Regions from separate parts of the Homo sapiens genome. Here region 2 is linked to region 1. Evidence: promoter capture Hi-C in 16 types of primary human blood cells and fetal thymus (Javierre and others, 2016). All regions are on one chromosome and are shown on one strand. The core of a region is centred on a gene start or on the middle of the fragment in contact, and the rest is flanking DNA. Distances in the headings are between cores, read along the strand shown.

Region 1 (7,448 bases), core at 3,108-5,607:
CGAGCACCTACTATGTACCAGTCACATTTCACTGATTGCTCAAAACATCCTGGTGAGATAGGTGTTATTCATCCCTCACTCCAACCCAAGCACTCTGGCCTCTTGATTATTTCTAGAACTTGCCAGGCATCCTCCCTCCCTAGGATCTTTGTTTGTACTGGCTGTTCCCTTTGCCAGGAATGCTTTTCCCCTAGATAGCTTCGGGTCTTACTCCCTCATCTCCTTTTTTTTTTTTTTTTTTTTTTTGAGATGGAGTCTTGCTCTGTCACCAGGCTGGAGTGCGGTGGCACAATCCCGGCTCACTGCAACCTCTGCCTCCCGGGTTCAAGCGATTCTCCTGCCTCAGCCTCCTGAGTAGCTGGGATTACAGGCATGCGCCGCTACGCCCAGCTAATTTTTGTACTTTTAATAGAGACGGGGTTTCACCGTGTTGGCCAGGATAGTCTTGATCTCTTGACCTTGTGATCTGCCCGCCTTGGCCTCCCAGAGTGCTGGGATTACAGGCGTGAGCCACTGCGCCCGGCCTCCCTCATCTCCTTGAAGCTTTGCTCAACTGTCACCTTCTCATTGAGACCTTCCCTGATCTCCCTACTTAAAATTAAATTGAAACATTCTCTCAACCAGCACTTCTTAGCCTGGCTTCCTTGCTCCACTTTTCTCGATAGTAGTGGTACCCATCTGACATACCAGGTATTTTTTTTTTTTTTAATCTTGGTTTTTGCTGTAACTACAAGAGGGCAGGGCTTTTTCCTGTGTTTTCACCTCCGTTTATCTCCAGGCCCTGGAACAGTGCTGGCACCTAGCAGACACTCAAGAAATGTTTATCAAATGAAATGTACAGAGGCGGAAACAGAGGCTCAGGGAAGTGCATTAACTTGCCTAAAGTCACACAGCTGGCAAGGGAATGTCAGAGTTGAGATCTGAACCTTGTTTTCTCCCTATCTCATGTTGACTTTTCTCCCCCACCCCAGTTCAGGTCCCCGAGAGAAAAAAATGTATGCATAGCAGAGGAGAGGCCAGCGACTAGATAACAGGAAAAGACAGACAGAAAGAAAGGAGGGTAAAGGGATCTTGGAACAGGGTGTGTGTATGTGAGGGAAGAGGGGAGGTGTCCTGGGACTAAGGCCTTTCCTGTGGTGTGATGGAGGAGAGGTGGGGGTTGTAGAGAGAAAATGTCTGTGGGAGAAGTTCTGGAGCACAGTCTCAGATTGGAGGCCAGGATCCTGAGACTGAGCAAATGGTGCCAATGCCTTTGTGTAGCAAAGGCCCTGAGGGAAGAGGCTTGCACTTATTAGTCACCTACTAAGCAGTTTACATAAATGTCTCATTAATGACAGCCTCCAGCAATTCTCTAAAGAAGGCATTATTAGACCCTTTTTACAGATGAATAAACAGAGGCTTAGCAAGGTTATTACTTGCCCAAGGTTGTACAGCTCCTAAATGATGGAGCTAGGAGTTGCATCTGGGTTTGAGTTTCTGTTTCTAGTGGGCTGGGTCAGGAGAGGGGGTCCCTAAGAGGGAATGAGAGGTCCTTGGGTATTAGGGCAGTTTGGGAGGGATTTTGCTCAGGGGGACCCAGGGCCAAGACTGTTTTTCTAGGGGACTTGTGGGCTAGAGCCTTAGGACCCAAAGTTCTAGACATGGGAGGCGTGGGGAGGGGGCACAGGGGATGGTTGTGGTCTTGTGGATCCCCAAAGGACTGGCTCTAAGCAGTGTCCCTTGCTGCCAGCTCCCCCTCCTTCCCCAGACTCTTTTCTCCCTTGCCTTTGTGGACCCATGGATACCTGGCTGCCCCTCTGCCTCTCAGGCCACACTTTCCCGGCATCTCCTCTCTTTTCCATCATTGCTCAGGGCCTGTGCTAGGTTTTCTTCTACTTTCACTCTTCCATCTCCCCACTGGGTGATCACTTGAGCCTACATTTACCCTCAGTACTCGAAGACCCCCAGTTTCCAACTCAACCCCTGTCCTCTTTCCTGAGTCCCTTAAATTTATTTTACTTATTGAACAGACACTGATGGAGCACTTATTGTGTGCCAGGCACTGTGCTAAGCACCTGATGAATATTAACTCATTGAATGCTAACCACGACCCTGTGAGGTAGATATTATTAGTATTCCTTTTTACAGATGAGGAAATTGAGACCCAGAGTGGTTATGTGATTTGGCCAAATAGTGGGGGAGTCTCAGAAACCTGTGCGGGGATTGTGTCTGTGGGTCTCTGTCATCCCACCCTGCAGGAGGTAAACATCATTGTGAGGGTAGTGCCCATGCCAGCCGTGCTCATTCTTGTGCACCTAGCACCCAGTGTATTGCCCGGCACACAGTGTGAGCTCAATAAATGTCAGAATTGTTTAATTGGGTTTAATTTTTCCCTATATCTAAGCAGCACCCCTCATTATTCTATTCTCTACCATAAAACCCTACATGAGGATCTCCTCGAGTTTCTCTCAGTCTGCTATTATCCTCTTTGTTAATTTATTTGTTATAATGTAGGCTCCATGAAGGTAGGGAGTTGGGTCTGGTTTTTTTTTTTTTGGAGATGGAGTTTCGCTCTTGTTGCCCAGGCTGGAGTGCAATGGCGCGATTTCGGCTCCCAGGTTCAAGTGATTCTCCTGCCTCAGCCTCCTGAGTAGCCGGGATTACAGGCATGCATGACCACGCCTGGCTAATTTTGTATTTTTAGTAGAGACGGGGTTTCTCCATGTTGGTCAGGCTGGTCTCGAACTCCTGACCTCAGGTGATCCGCCCACCTCGGCCTCTCAAAGTGCTGGGATTACAGGCGTGAGCCACTGTGCCTGGCGGGAGTTGGGTCTGTTTTAGTTACTATCATGCTTCCAGCACTTTGAGTAGTACCAGATATAAAATAAGTTCTCAAAAATGTGTATAGAATGAATGAATGGGGATTAAATAATAATATTGGCTAACATTAATTGGGTACCTACTGGGTTAAGGTATGTATATACACCTGTCTTACTTTTGTATCTTGTTTATTGCCTGTCCCTTACCCCTTCGCTGGAACAGAGCCAGAGGGCCACAGCCTATGTCTGCCTTGCTCACCACATAGTCCTAGAGTCCAGAGCAGTGCCAGGTACAAGGCAGGTGCTCAGTGATCCCAGTGGATGTAGCCTCGAGGTGGGAGCTGGGCAGGAGCTACTTGCGGGGGGAGGTATTGGCCGGTTCCACCCTGCCCCTTCCTCTCCCAGGTCTGTTGGTATCCCAGGGTGGGAGCACACCTGAAGGGGTACTCGAACTCGACCTCGATGCTGAGGTCACTCTCGGTCTTGTTGGCACAATCCACGCTCAGCTGGAGCTCCCCACTGTAGCTGCCGCATGTGGCAAAGGCGAAGATGGCGAAGACCTTGGGCAGCAGGGATGGGGATGGCCACAGTGAACCTGTGTGCATGTGGGAGGGAGGTGCCCTCCTCTGGACAGATCGGGGGCCCAGCACAGGCAGCAGCAGATGGAGCAGTCCCCACCCCCACCCCCTAATCAGGGCTCATCGGGACCAAGGACAAGCTGATTACAAGGGTATGGCTGTCTCTTCCTGTTTCTCTCTCTGTGTCTCTCTCTGTCTCTGCCTTTCCATGCTGACCTCCCTCTTCTCTGTTTGTCTCTGTTGTTCTCTGTGTATCTCACTGTGTCTCTGTTTCTCTCGGTATCTCTGTTTCTCTATGTGTCTTTGTCTTTCTCAGATGTCTCTTTGTCTCTCTGTGTCTCTGATCCTCTCTGCCTCTGCCTATCTGATCTGTCGATGTCTCTTTTTGTCTCTTTTTTCTCTGTCTGTGTAAGTGTATGCCTGTATGTCTGTGTCTTTCTGTTTCTTGGTCTGTTTGTCTCTGTCTCTCTGTCCTGTCTCTCACTCGGTCTCCGGATGGTTCTCTCTCTGTCTCCCTCTTGCCTCTGTGTGTTGGTTTCTCTTTTTTCTGAGTGTCTCTTTCTCTCTGTGTCTCTCTCTCCCTCACCCTGTTTTCCTGCCTCTCTCCCTGCGTCTGTTTCTCTTTGCATCTGTTTTCTGTGTCTCCTTTTTCTTTGTTTCTGTTTGTCTCTTCTCTCTTATGTCTGTATCTCTTCTCATCTCCATATTTCTTTTTTTTTTCTCAGTATTTCCATCTCTGTCTTTATCATTCCCTGTCCCTCATTCTCTCTGTCACCTTCACTGTCTCTGGGTTTCTCTGACTTTGCATCTCTCACCCAGCATCTGCTACAGGCTCCACCTCCCCCACCCCTCCCTCACTTCAAGAGAGGAGGTAGGACGTCACAGTCTCCCACTTCACAACGGGGGTACCCTCAGCCCTATGTGACGTCACAGCTCATCTGTTTTCTGGCTTCAGACCCCTGAAACCTCACCCTGGAGCCCAATTCCCCCATCCCCTACAACCCCCGCACTCATCCCTGGCTACTCGCCCCTACTCCACCCCTGCTCTTCTGGACCCCATGACCTCCCTCTCTCCCTGCACTCTGCCCCAACAGCCCGGACCACACTCACCCATTGCAGCACCTTCACAAAGCCGAGGGGCTCCTTGACCACCCGGAACTGACCCCCAGCCACCAGCTGAGGAGAGAAACAGTGGGGAAGGGGTGGGGTTGTTGGAGGTACAGGGAGGTGAGCGGCAAGGCTGCCCATCAATGACCCCAGGGGATGGAGCATGTGACCTCGGGGAGAGGGTGAGAAGGAGAAAGTGACACCTTGGGGATGGTGTGAGCCCCAGGGTCCAAGGACTGGTGGGAAGGTCTGAAGAGATGGTGAGTCAGATGGCAGAGGAAGTCGGGGGTGAGGGAGATGGGGATGAGGTCAGGACTAGTTAAGGAGGGGGAGCAGGTTTGAAACGTAAAGGCGAGTCGGATGGGGAAGGGGTTCGGGTAGAGAATGGGGATGGAGTGGGGTGCATTCGGGTGGGGGGGTTGTGATGGTGAAGGTGAGTCATAACGGGGCAGGAGTCGGTTTGGCTCAGGTGGGGGAAGGGTCTGCAGGGGTAAAGGTGTGTTAGACGGCGGTGGCGGTAGATATTTGAGGTGATGGGGATGGGGAAGGGTTGGGACTGATTGGGGGTGAGTTTCTGAGGTGGCAAAGACGAGAGACATGGCGGAGAGGGTCTGGACTGATTAAGGTGGGGGAGGGCTGGGACACGGCTTCAGTCGCTATGTGTTGGGGGTGAGGAGGCTGGGGGTTTTGGAAGGAGTAAAACCGGATTGTCCCCTAGGTGTGCTCTGGGGGAAGGGGTGGTCGCCTATGGGGGTACAGTCTCTGTTTGGGAGGGGCGGGTGCCAGCCCTCTCCCCCATCCCCGCCCCCACACCTTCTGTCGCTCTATTTCCTAGCTTATCCGCAGCACCCCCCATCTTCCTTCCACTCTCCCCTCCCCTTGTCCCTTGCCCTCACTCCAGCCCCCAGGCCCCTATTCCTCCCCTCGCGGTCGCCAGTAATAAACGGGGCTCCGGGGGCCCCCGCTGCGGCAGTGAGGACGGCCCTCGCTGCGGCAAAGAGCGCACTCCTTTTCTCCACCTCCCCCTTCCTCCCCTTCACCTGCCGCAGACCCCCATCCCCAGCGCCGGGGACCGGGTCTCCGCTGCCAGACCCTGGCCACCACCTCCCAGAGTCGGCTGGCCTGAGCGACCCGGCCTAGGCAGCCGGGCGGCGGCGGGCTCTGTCCACGGTGCTGGAGCGCGTACCTGATTCACCACGTCCATGTCCGCCAGCAGCAGCATCAGCAATGCAGGGGGCGGGAGGCTCGGCTAGCAAGGGCGGCGCGGGGCGCGGCGGGGGCGGCGCGCGCTCGTTGGAACAGCCCAGGCGGCTGCAGCCCCGCCCCTCGCGCCCCCTCCTTGCCCGCCACGCGCCTGCGCACAGCGGGTTGTACCACAGTCTCACCGGCAGCCATTCCGGCCCGGAGGCTGGAGCCGTGAGAGCGTGCGGGAATATGCGTTGGGAAAACACAAGTCGAGGGCCGGGGAGAGGAGACCTCCCTGCTCGGTCCTACAGTGTGACAACTTTGCCAGGCTCTTTTCTGAGTTTGTTAAACATGTTCACTCATTTAATGCTTACAGAAGTCCTACGTTGTAGGGACTATTAGGCCGTTTTTACAGACGAGGAAAATAATTCCCCAGAGAGCTTAAGTGACTCTCACAAGGTCAGCCAGCTACTAGCTGGCAGTGCCCAGAGTCCCTGCAGTTTAAACACGGTTCAAGGCCTTCCAGGTTCCTTTTTCATAGTCTGCATTTTAAGCACACCCTGAAACTCCTGCCCCCATCTAGCCATCTCCCTTATTTCTTTCTTCCTCTTTGTCAAATTAATGCCTACTCGAACTCTACCACTTTACCTATTTATTCCTTAGCTCTCTCTTAATTGGAATAACCCTCCTTCCTGCGACTAAAACTAGGCCCATCAAGGTCAACAGTGATGGCTATGATGCAAAATCCAAAATACAGTTGGGGCTTAAGATGCTCAACTTCGGCCAGGCGCAGTGGCTCATGCCTGTAATCCCAGCACTTTGGGAGGCCGAAGTGGACAGTGGATCACTTGAAGTCAGGAGTTTGAGACTAGCCTGGCCAACATAGTGAAACCCCATCTCTATTAAAAATACAAAAATTAGCTGGCTGTGGTGGCAGGCGCCTGTAATCCCAGCCACTTGGGAGGCTGAGGCAGGAGAATTGCTTGAACCCAGGAGGCGGAGGTTGCACTGAGGCGAGATTGCACCACTGCACTCCAGCCTGGGCAACAGAGCGAGACTCCATCTCAAAAACAAACAAGCAAACAAAAATACTGAGATACTGTTTTTCATCTTTCAGGGTGGTGAGTATCAAAAAGTTTGATAACGTTCCGTATTGGTAGGTTGGCCAGAAACAAGCGTTCTCATAAATCGCCTGTGGAAGTTTCATTGGTATAACGTGTAGAAGGCAATCGGGCAAAATCTAAAAAAAAAAAATAACAAATTCATTTACTGTTTGGTTCACCTTCATACTTCTAGGAATTCATCTTACAGATAGACTCATACATGTGCTAAAAGATATATGTATAAGATAATACATGACTGGGCTGTTTATTTTTTATTTTTTTTTGAGACGGAGTCTCACTCTGTTGCCCAGGCTGGAGTGCAGTGGCATGATCTCCGCTTACTGCAACCTCCGCCTCCCGGGTTCAAGCAATTCTCCCTGCCTCACCCTCCCTGAGTAGCTGAGATTACAGGCATTCACCACCACGCCCATCTAATTTTTTTTTTTTTTTTTGTAGTTTTAGTAGAGATGGGGTTTCGCCATATTGGCTAGGGTGGTCATGAACTCCTGACCTCATGTGATCTGCCTGCCTCGGCCTCCCAAAGTGCTGGGATTACAGGTGTGAGCCACTGGGCCAGGCCAGGGCTGTTTATAATAGGATAAAGAATGGACACTCCCAAAGTGCTCATTGTTGGTAGCCTGTTTAAATAAACTCTGATACTATGCCGCTGTCATTAT
Region 2 (7,448 bases), core at 1,089-3,588, 71 kb after region 1:
AAAGACTTGAAGGAGATGAGGGAGGGAGCCAGCTAGATATCTGAGGAACTCCAAAGGAAACAGCCAGGGCAAAGGTCCTGAGGTGGGAATGTACCTGATTTGTTCAAGGTCTACAAGGGGGCTGGTGTGGTTAGTGTGGAGAGAGCAAGAAGAGAAGCTGGAGGTGAGGTCAGAAAGGGGACTCGGAGGTTAGACCACGCAGGACCTTGTAGGCCATGGTAAGGACTTTGGCTTCAACGCTGAGTGAGGAGGAAGGCATGACAGGGTTGCAAGCAGAGGAGAAACACAAACCGTGTTAGGATTTAACAGGAAGCCCCTGAATGCTGAGTGTACAATGGGGTCTAGGGCCTGAATGTGGAAGCAGGGGACCAGCAAGGAGCTGGCTACTGCAGTAGTCTAGGTGACTGGTGATAGTGCTGGCAGTGGAGGTGGTGAGAAGAGGATGGATTTGGTAAATATTTTTAATAGACAGCCAAAAGGATTTGTTGAAGACTGAGAGTCTTGGAGCCAGATCGGGACAGACAATGCCCAAACCAGGTGGGCAGGAAGGAGTCCCTGGACTATTTGCCAGCTTGAACTTTTAGGTGAGAAAAAAATAAAGTTCTGTCTTGCTTAAGCCCCCATTATTTTATGATTTTTCTGTTACTTGCAGCTGAACATATTCATTTCTAACTCATGGACATCCTGAACATGGAGACCTGGGGAGAGGGGCTGCTGGAAGGATCACCTCCCTCCTAGGATGCTGTGAGGTTCTAATGAGATAACAGCATGCTCAGAACCTGGCACTCAGTAGGTGTTCAGTAAATCTTCCCAGGATGGAGAAGGAATGTATGAATGGATGTGTTCAGCGGACAAAAGCTGCAGTTGAGTTCCCACAGAAGGTGAGACCCCAAAGGGAGAGCGAAAGGAGTTTACTAGATGGAAGCAGCAGAAGGAACAGCACTCTTGGGAGAGGGAACAGTAGAAGCAGAGATGGGGGGACAGAAAGAAGGGAGGTGAGGCCCCTGTGGGGTGTGGAGTGTCAGGTTGGGCAAGAAGGACAGGGCTTTGATTGTGATTCCATTAGTCAGAAGCTACCCATATGCCCAATCAACTTCTGGTAGCACACAGTCAGGTCAGTGTTTGCTGAGCTGAAATTTAAAAAAGTGAATCCTTCAGAAAGTTAAATTTCCTATTCGGCCATTCATTCAACAATAGTATCAAGTCCTGGAGAGTGCTTGCGGCTAACAATCAGGGGCATTCTTGGCTTGTGGCACTGCTCAAGAAAAGGTTGTAGTTGGGCAGGGAGGACCCAGTAAGTAACTAACTGCAACAGGACAGTCATTTTCACTTTCCTAGTTCACACACCAAGGTGTGGTCTAGGCCTTCAGGGGCTCTGGGTATTCCTGGGGCAATGGGGAGTCACGGAGGGTTAGGGAGAGGGTAACCCCATCCCTGAGAAGCACATTTTTCCTAATGGCTGCCTGCGTTCTATGGTTCTGCTGTCCGGCCACCCAATACCTCAGACTCTGTCTACACAGCGTCCTCCTCTCCAGCCTCCTTATTGGCTACTCATGCCTCCCTTCACACCACCTACACTGCCCCCGTCGGCTCTGCTTTTTTCCCCATCTTGCCTCCAAGTCCTCCCTCCGTCCCGCTGCACTATCTAGCCTCGGCATTGGCTCATCCCATACTAGTACTGTCCTTTGAGGTCTCTACGCCTTCACCCTGGCTCCCTCATTGGCTATCCGCCAGCTCTCGTCCTCGCTCCCGCCTTCAGCCTCCACCTCCATTGGCTCGGCTCCCTACACACCCGCCTCTTGGTCTCCTTTTAGCCTTCGTATTGGCTAGCTCCACCTTGGCACCACCCCTTCGAAGCCGCAGTGCACGCTCACAAGCCTCCCCATTGGCTCGCTGCAGCCATTGTCGTCATCCCACGCGTGGCTCTCCATTGGCTGTTCTCTCTCTCTAGCTACCGTTCCACCGCCTACGCAACCCGCGGGATCTCCCACTTTTTGGGCCTCTGCGTTCGTTCCCGGCTGCCCTCATCGCCTGTAGCCATTCCACTTTTCCCACCGCCCACATGCCTCTCTCGCTCAGACTTCCGCATTAGCTGTCTGCTTCTGTTTTCTTCATCATGGATTTCGCACCACCCCCATTCCGGCCTCTCCATTGATTCCTCGATCATCCCGCCCCCTACACCGCCCACTCCCGGGCATCCCCATTGGCTGCGTGCTTCTCCGGCTCTCAATTCGCTGTACGTCATCCGTGCATGGCTGCCCATTGGCCCTCTGCAATACTTGTCTTCATCTCACCGCCTATGCCCCCGTGAGCCGTACCCCTCCGCGCTGGCCTTCCCATTGGCTGCCCGCCCCTTCAGGCCCTGCCCCCGCCGGTCCCGCCGCCGGTGCCGTCGGTGCCGCCGCCGCCGCCGATATGGCGCGTACGGCCCCTGTGGAGCCCCCGCTGCGGCATTCCGCGCCCCCCTCGCCGGCCGCGGGTGAGCCCCGCACCTCGGTCGAGGCGGCGGTGGCCCCGCGGAGGGTGCTGTTCGCCGACGAGGCCTTGGGGCTGCCGCTGGCGCAGTTGCGCCGCTACCGGCCGTGGGGCGGGCCCGGGGCGGGCAAGATGGCGGCGGCGGCCGGGCAAGATGGCGGCGGCGGCGGCGGGGCCGACGAGGACGACGATGGCGAGGATGGGGATGAAGGGGAGGAGGAAGAGGAGGCTTGCCCCGAGCCCTCACCGCTGTGCCCCGTCCCCGCTGGCGGGGGGTTTTACCTGGTCCCCACATTTTCGCTGCCGCCCGCGCCGGGCCGTCTGGAGCGCTTGGGGCGCGTCATGGTGGAGCTGGAGGCGCTGCTGCCGCCTCCCGGAGCGGTCCCCGGGGGTGCCGGGGTGTGGGTGCCTGGGGGCCGCCCGCCGGTGCTGCGCGGGTTGGTACGCGTGCTGAACCGCTCCTTCGAGAAGGCGGTGCACGTGCGGGCCTCACACGACGGCTGGGCTTCCTTTTGCGACCACCCAGCGCGCTACGTCCCGCGCAGCCCGCCGTGGGCAGGAGCGGGAGGAACAGGAGCAGGAGATCCCATCCTGGATCCGGGGCTCGGCCTGGGTCCCGGCCAGGCATCCGCCTCCTCGCCCGACGACGGCGGCCGCACCGACCGCTTTGCCTTCCAGCTGCCCTTTGCTGAGGGCGCGGGCGATGGGGCGCGCCTCGACTTCGTGGTGCGCTATGAGACCCCTGAGGGCACTTTCTGGGCCAACAACCACGGCCGCAACTACACAGTCCTGCTCCGGATCGCACCCGCTCCCACACCCACTGATGCCGAAGGGCTGCCCCAGCAGCAGCAGCTGCCGCAGCTGGAGCCACAGCCCGAGTGCCAGGGTCCCGTGGAGGCTGAGGCCAGGCAGCTGAAGAGCTGCATGAAGCCGGTGAGGCGCAGGTAATGTCAGCCAGCGCCACCTCCGCCAACGCAGGGCTGTGTCTGGGATGGAGGACAAGCATTCCGGCCCAGGAACCCCTCAGGCCTGCTCTCCAGGACAGGGAGGAGGGTGCATTGAGTCAGTCAGTCAAAGAGTGATGGAGGTCAAACACGTGCTAGGCACTGTTTTAACTGGGGTTTTATTCCTCCATTTATTGAGTTCCACTGTAAAGCCCTGAACAAGACAGACATCTACCCTACCCTCAAGGATTCATACAGGCTCCTATGGGAGACAGTTTGAAAAAACAAGCAAGCAAGCAGATAGGATAAATAGGGACAAAGTTAGCTGCTGAAGGGAGTAAGGGGATAGATTGGGAGGGAATGACTGTGTCAGACATGCTGTTAAAGGGAGGGCCTTTGAGGAGGTGAGTCCCGAATGATGATAAAGAAGAGTTATGCAGATACGGTGGGGAGGTGGGGGAGAGTTTGTAGGAAAAGGAACAGGGAGGACTTTTCTGAGGAGGTTTCATTTAAACTAAGTCCTGGATGATGAATAACAGTTATGTGCATATATGGAACAAGGGTGTTCTAGGTAGAGGAAACAGCAAGTGCAAAGGTCCTGGGGTGGAAATGAGCTTGGTGTGAATGATCAGCAGTGTGCTGGAGTGGAGAGAACTGCAATGACATAGTGTGGACCAAGGGCTTTGCCAGTGGGGGGTAGAGCAGATTCTCTTTCTGACAGAGCAGGAAACCAGGATTCCAGAGGTGGAGAAACTGGTTGAGGCAGTGATGGCACCTGGCTCTTCCAGTTCACCCATGCCTGACCTTGAAGCCTGTGCACTCTACTGTTAACGCTGTAATCTACTTTTGAGTCCTGTGGAGGCGAGGGGCTGAGCCCATGCTCTCACAAGAAAGCAGTGGCTCTAGCAGAGAGACAGAACCAGATGGGTACTGGACTTGAAGTTTTTGTCCCTTGTTTTTTTGCCACACCACCTGTGATCATTTAGGGACAGGGAGAAATAATCAGTTATACCCCAGGGGGCCCCAGAAGATTTCCCTAGGTTTCCTCTATCAAGCTATGAGTTCTTTAAGGGCAGCAGCTAGTCCTGATTCTTTTTGCGGTCACCTAAGTCTGGCCCAGGATCACTAGATTCTCCCTAAAATGTATACATTTCCCTGTTCCTGGGAGGACTGGGAATGGAAATGGGAAAATGCTTTTTGGACCTTGTATGTATACGCTTGGTCAGAAGCCCCTGGCTGCAGTAAGACATTTGTGGGTTCTGCTGGTTCTGGTAAGGCCTTAGGCTGTGAGTGGTTCAGAAAGGTCTAGCTCCGGTCTGGTGGGCAGATGTGCCTGGGTAACTGAGCAGGCAGGCAGGTACCCACTCACCCACCTGTGAGCCCCACCATAATCTGAGACTTCATTTAAAGGGGGCAGGCAGCATGGTTTTTCTTACAGCATTAAGAGTGTGGATTCTGGCATAGATTGCCTGGGTTCAAATCCTGGCGCTGCCACTTACTGGCCTTGTGACCTTGGCCAACGCATTTAACTACACCATGCCTCAGGACCCTCACCTGTAAAACAGAATTATAGCATCTACTTTACGGGATAAGAGTAAAGGTGCTCAGAACCGAGTCTGGCTCAAAGTAGTATCATACAGGTGTTAGCTAGTGTCAGTATTTAGGGAGCCACACCTACAGTTTCCTGGATTCCTCTCCTAAATTCGGCTCCGCCCATCAGCTGTGTGGCCTTGCCTCCGTTTCCTTCTCTGCTAAGGGAAATGACAGTCACTTTGCATGGTTGGATTGAATGCAGCAAACATGGGCAAGGTAACTGAAGCATGGTGGTAACTGCAAAAGATAACTGGCCAGCATTTACTGATTTCTGTGCTATGAACATCAGATCCATTCTCTCCGTGAGGCCTGCTGTGCATGCTGTGTTGTGTAGGTGCTATGATTATCCCCATTTAGTAGAGGGGAGACAGGTAGCTCAGAGAGATGAGCCAGCTTGCTCAAAGCCTCTCAGCTAGTGAGTGACAGGGCCAGGGAAGAAATGCTAGGGACATTTATTTTTTTCTATTTTTTTTTTTTAAACTGGTCCTCTAGAAAGCGTGGCATGATTCAGGGCAAATTCTGGATTTCACTCTTGGTGTTCCCAGCATGTCGTGCTTTCCTTTTACCTTTTTTTTTTTTTTTGCTTTATCGAGGTATACCTACATAAAGTGTACTGATATTCTGTGTATAGCCCAGTGGATTTGTACATATGTATGCACTTGTGTAGCCACCACCCAGATGAAGATACTGAGCAGGTCCAGTACCCCAGAGCTACCTTCATTTCTATCACTTTCCCAAGCTGTCATCCCCGCCGGCTGTCATGGGAACCCTGTCTGTAAGATGCGACAGTTTGGGTAAAGGAGTTTGGTCATTTTAAAGAGTGTGAAAGGCAGAGAACAGAGAAATCAAAACCTTGCAGGGCCAAGGTGGGTGGAGAGGGTGTTTTTCTTTTAACATACATGGGCGGTTTTAAGGAGAAATTGAAGCAGCCTGTTCAGACAATTGTTTTGGTATCTGGCCCCAGGTCTGTGGTTCCTAACATGACTTGTGATATTATTTTAAGTGGGCAGATGGCTTTTTGATAGCTTCTTTATCTTTCGATCTCAGCTCTTGCAAAGGGGAGGTTGGTGCTCATTGCAAGATCAGCGATAAGGGTTTCTTTGTAGGTCGGTGGCTTTCTTGGTGAGTACATTTCAACATATTATTGTTTTAGAACCTGTGTGCTGCCAGTGACTTGCAGCACTGTTGAAGACTAGCCACCCTTTGTGACCTAGCCCTCTTGGGAAATGGCGGAGGATCTCAGGGTATATCCCTTACCTGTGGGAGCCCTATCAGAGGGCTTCCTGTTGAGGAAATGTTGGCTGTAGGCCCTCTGTGCACTGAGCACAGCCACATCAGGTGAGGGCATGGGAGAAGTCCGTGGTAGCCATCAGGATAGAGTTCAGAAACCCAAATGGCTGCTTTCCCTGGGTTGCTGGACCAGGCATTTGGTAACTCTAAAGCTTAGAGATGATTCATCGACAAGCATTTATTGACTGCCTACTGTGTGCTGGGCACAGTGCTAGGTTCCAGCAGGGAAAGAGATGCAGAGTGGTCCTAAGATGTCACAGGGCTTGTGGGATGGAGTACAGAGGATTTGTTGTATGAGACCTGGCTGAGCCCCTGCTCTTCGCCAGGCACTTCACTGAGTACTATATTTTCATGCAAGGTCTGGTTTAATTCCGACAACATTCCCTGTGAAGTAGAGGGTTTTAAATTTCTCTTTCCTGGATGAGCAAACTGAGGCTCCCAGAGTCCAAAGTCCTAGGGCTGGTGTGGGGAAAAGCCCTCCTGATCTTCCTTGGCACTTGACACTACCCTTTGGAAGTGTCCTATTCTTCTTAAAAGTAAAGACCAAGAGAGCCTCACCATGGTCTTCAAGCACCCTCCCATCCCATTCCCCAATCTGGCCTCCACTGGCTCATAGTCTTAACACCAGTGGTCTTTCTGAGCTCCTGTCACCATGGTCTTTCTGTTACTCCAAAGGGCCTCGCTCCTTTCTGCTGCAGGGCCTTTGCCCCTGCTGTTTCCTTCACCAGGAACATTTATCCCGTACCCCTTGCAGTCTCCTCCAGTGTTGATCCCTCAGTTCTAAGAGGACTTCCCCAGGGGAGCCTGTCCACCCCAGTGTCCTCGGGCCCCTGGCTTTTTCATAGCACTCATCAGCCCAGCACGTGCTAAGCTTTGTTAGAGAATGTCCCATGGCAGAGCAGATGAACATCGCCACCAGTCGAGGGGTCATCGGCCACCCTGCCTAGCAGTTCTACTATATTTTTTTGATCCACTCGTTTCTCCTCTGAAGTGACTCTTTCAAATGTTCTTTACCTTCAGACTTTCTCTCCTGCTTCAAAAAACAAAACAGAAGCCATAAGAATGGAACTCCCTATAACTTGTGGCCCCCAAGTCTGCACGCTGATTTCCCTCCCCTGTGTTACAGATGACGAGGAGTCCCTTCTT

The links. Contacts are between HindIII fragments. The CHiCAGO score rates a contact against its expected background, and 5 or more counts as called.
Region 2: the fragment with the promoter of PPP1R3F here is called in contact with the fragment with the promoter of SYP-AS1 in region 1 in 9 of 17 cell types (fetal thymus, neutrophils, naive CD8 T cells and 6 more); the score reaches 11.3 in fetal thymus.

What each region holds. Positions count from the first base shown.
Region 1 is chrX:49,194,482-49,201,929 of GRCh38, forward strand. It overlaps SYP-AS1 (SYP antisense RNA 1), which reads left to right and starts at 4,358. Exons shown (of 2, transcript NR_046649.1): 1 at 4,358-4,743. SYP (synaptophysin) reads right to left here and starts at 5,712. Exons shown (of 7, transcript NM_003179.3): 1 at 5,670-5,712; 2 at 4,487-4,552; 3 at 3,234-3,358. The coding sequence starts at 5,705. RefSeq lists silencers at 5,545-5,594, 5,665-5,904. The HindIII fragment of the contact is 12,908 bases long and covers 542-7,448 here.
Region 2 is chrX:49,267,455-49,274,902 of GRCh38, forward strand. It overlaps PPP1R3F (protein phosphatase 1 regulatory subunit 3F), which reads left to right and starts at 2,339. Exons shown (of 4, transcript NM_033215.5): 1 at 2,339-3,419. The coding sequence starts at 2,416. RefSeq lists enhancers at 1,428-1,927, 1,625-1,674 and a silencer at 2,375-2,614. The HindIII fragment of the contact is 7,823 bases long and covers 1-6,452 here.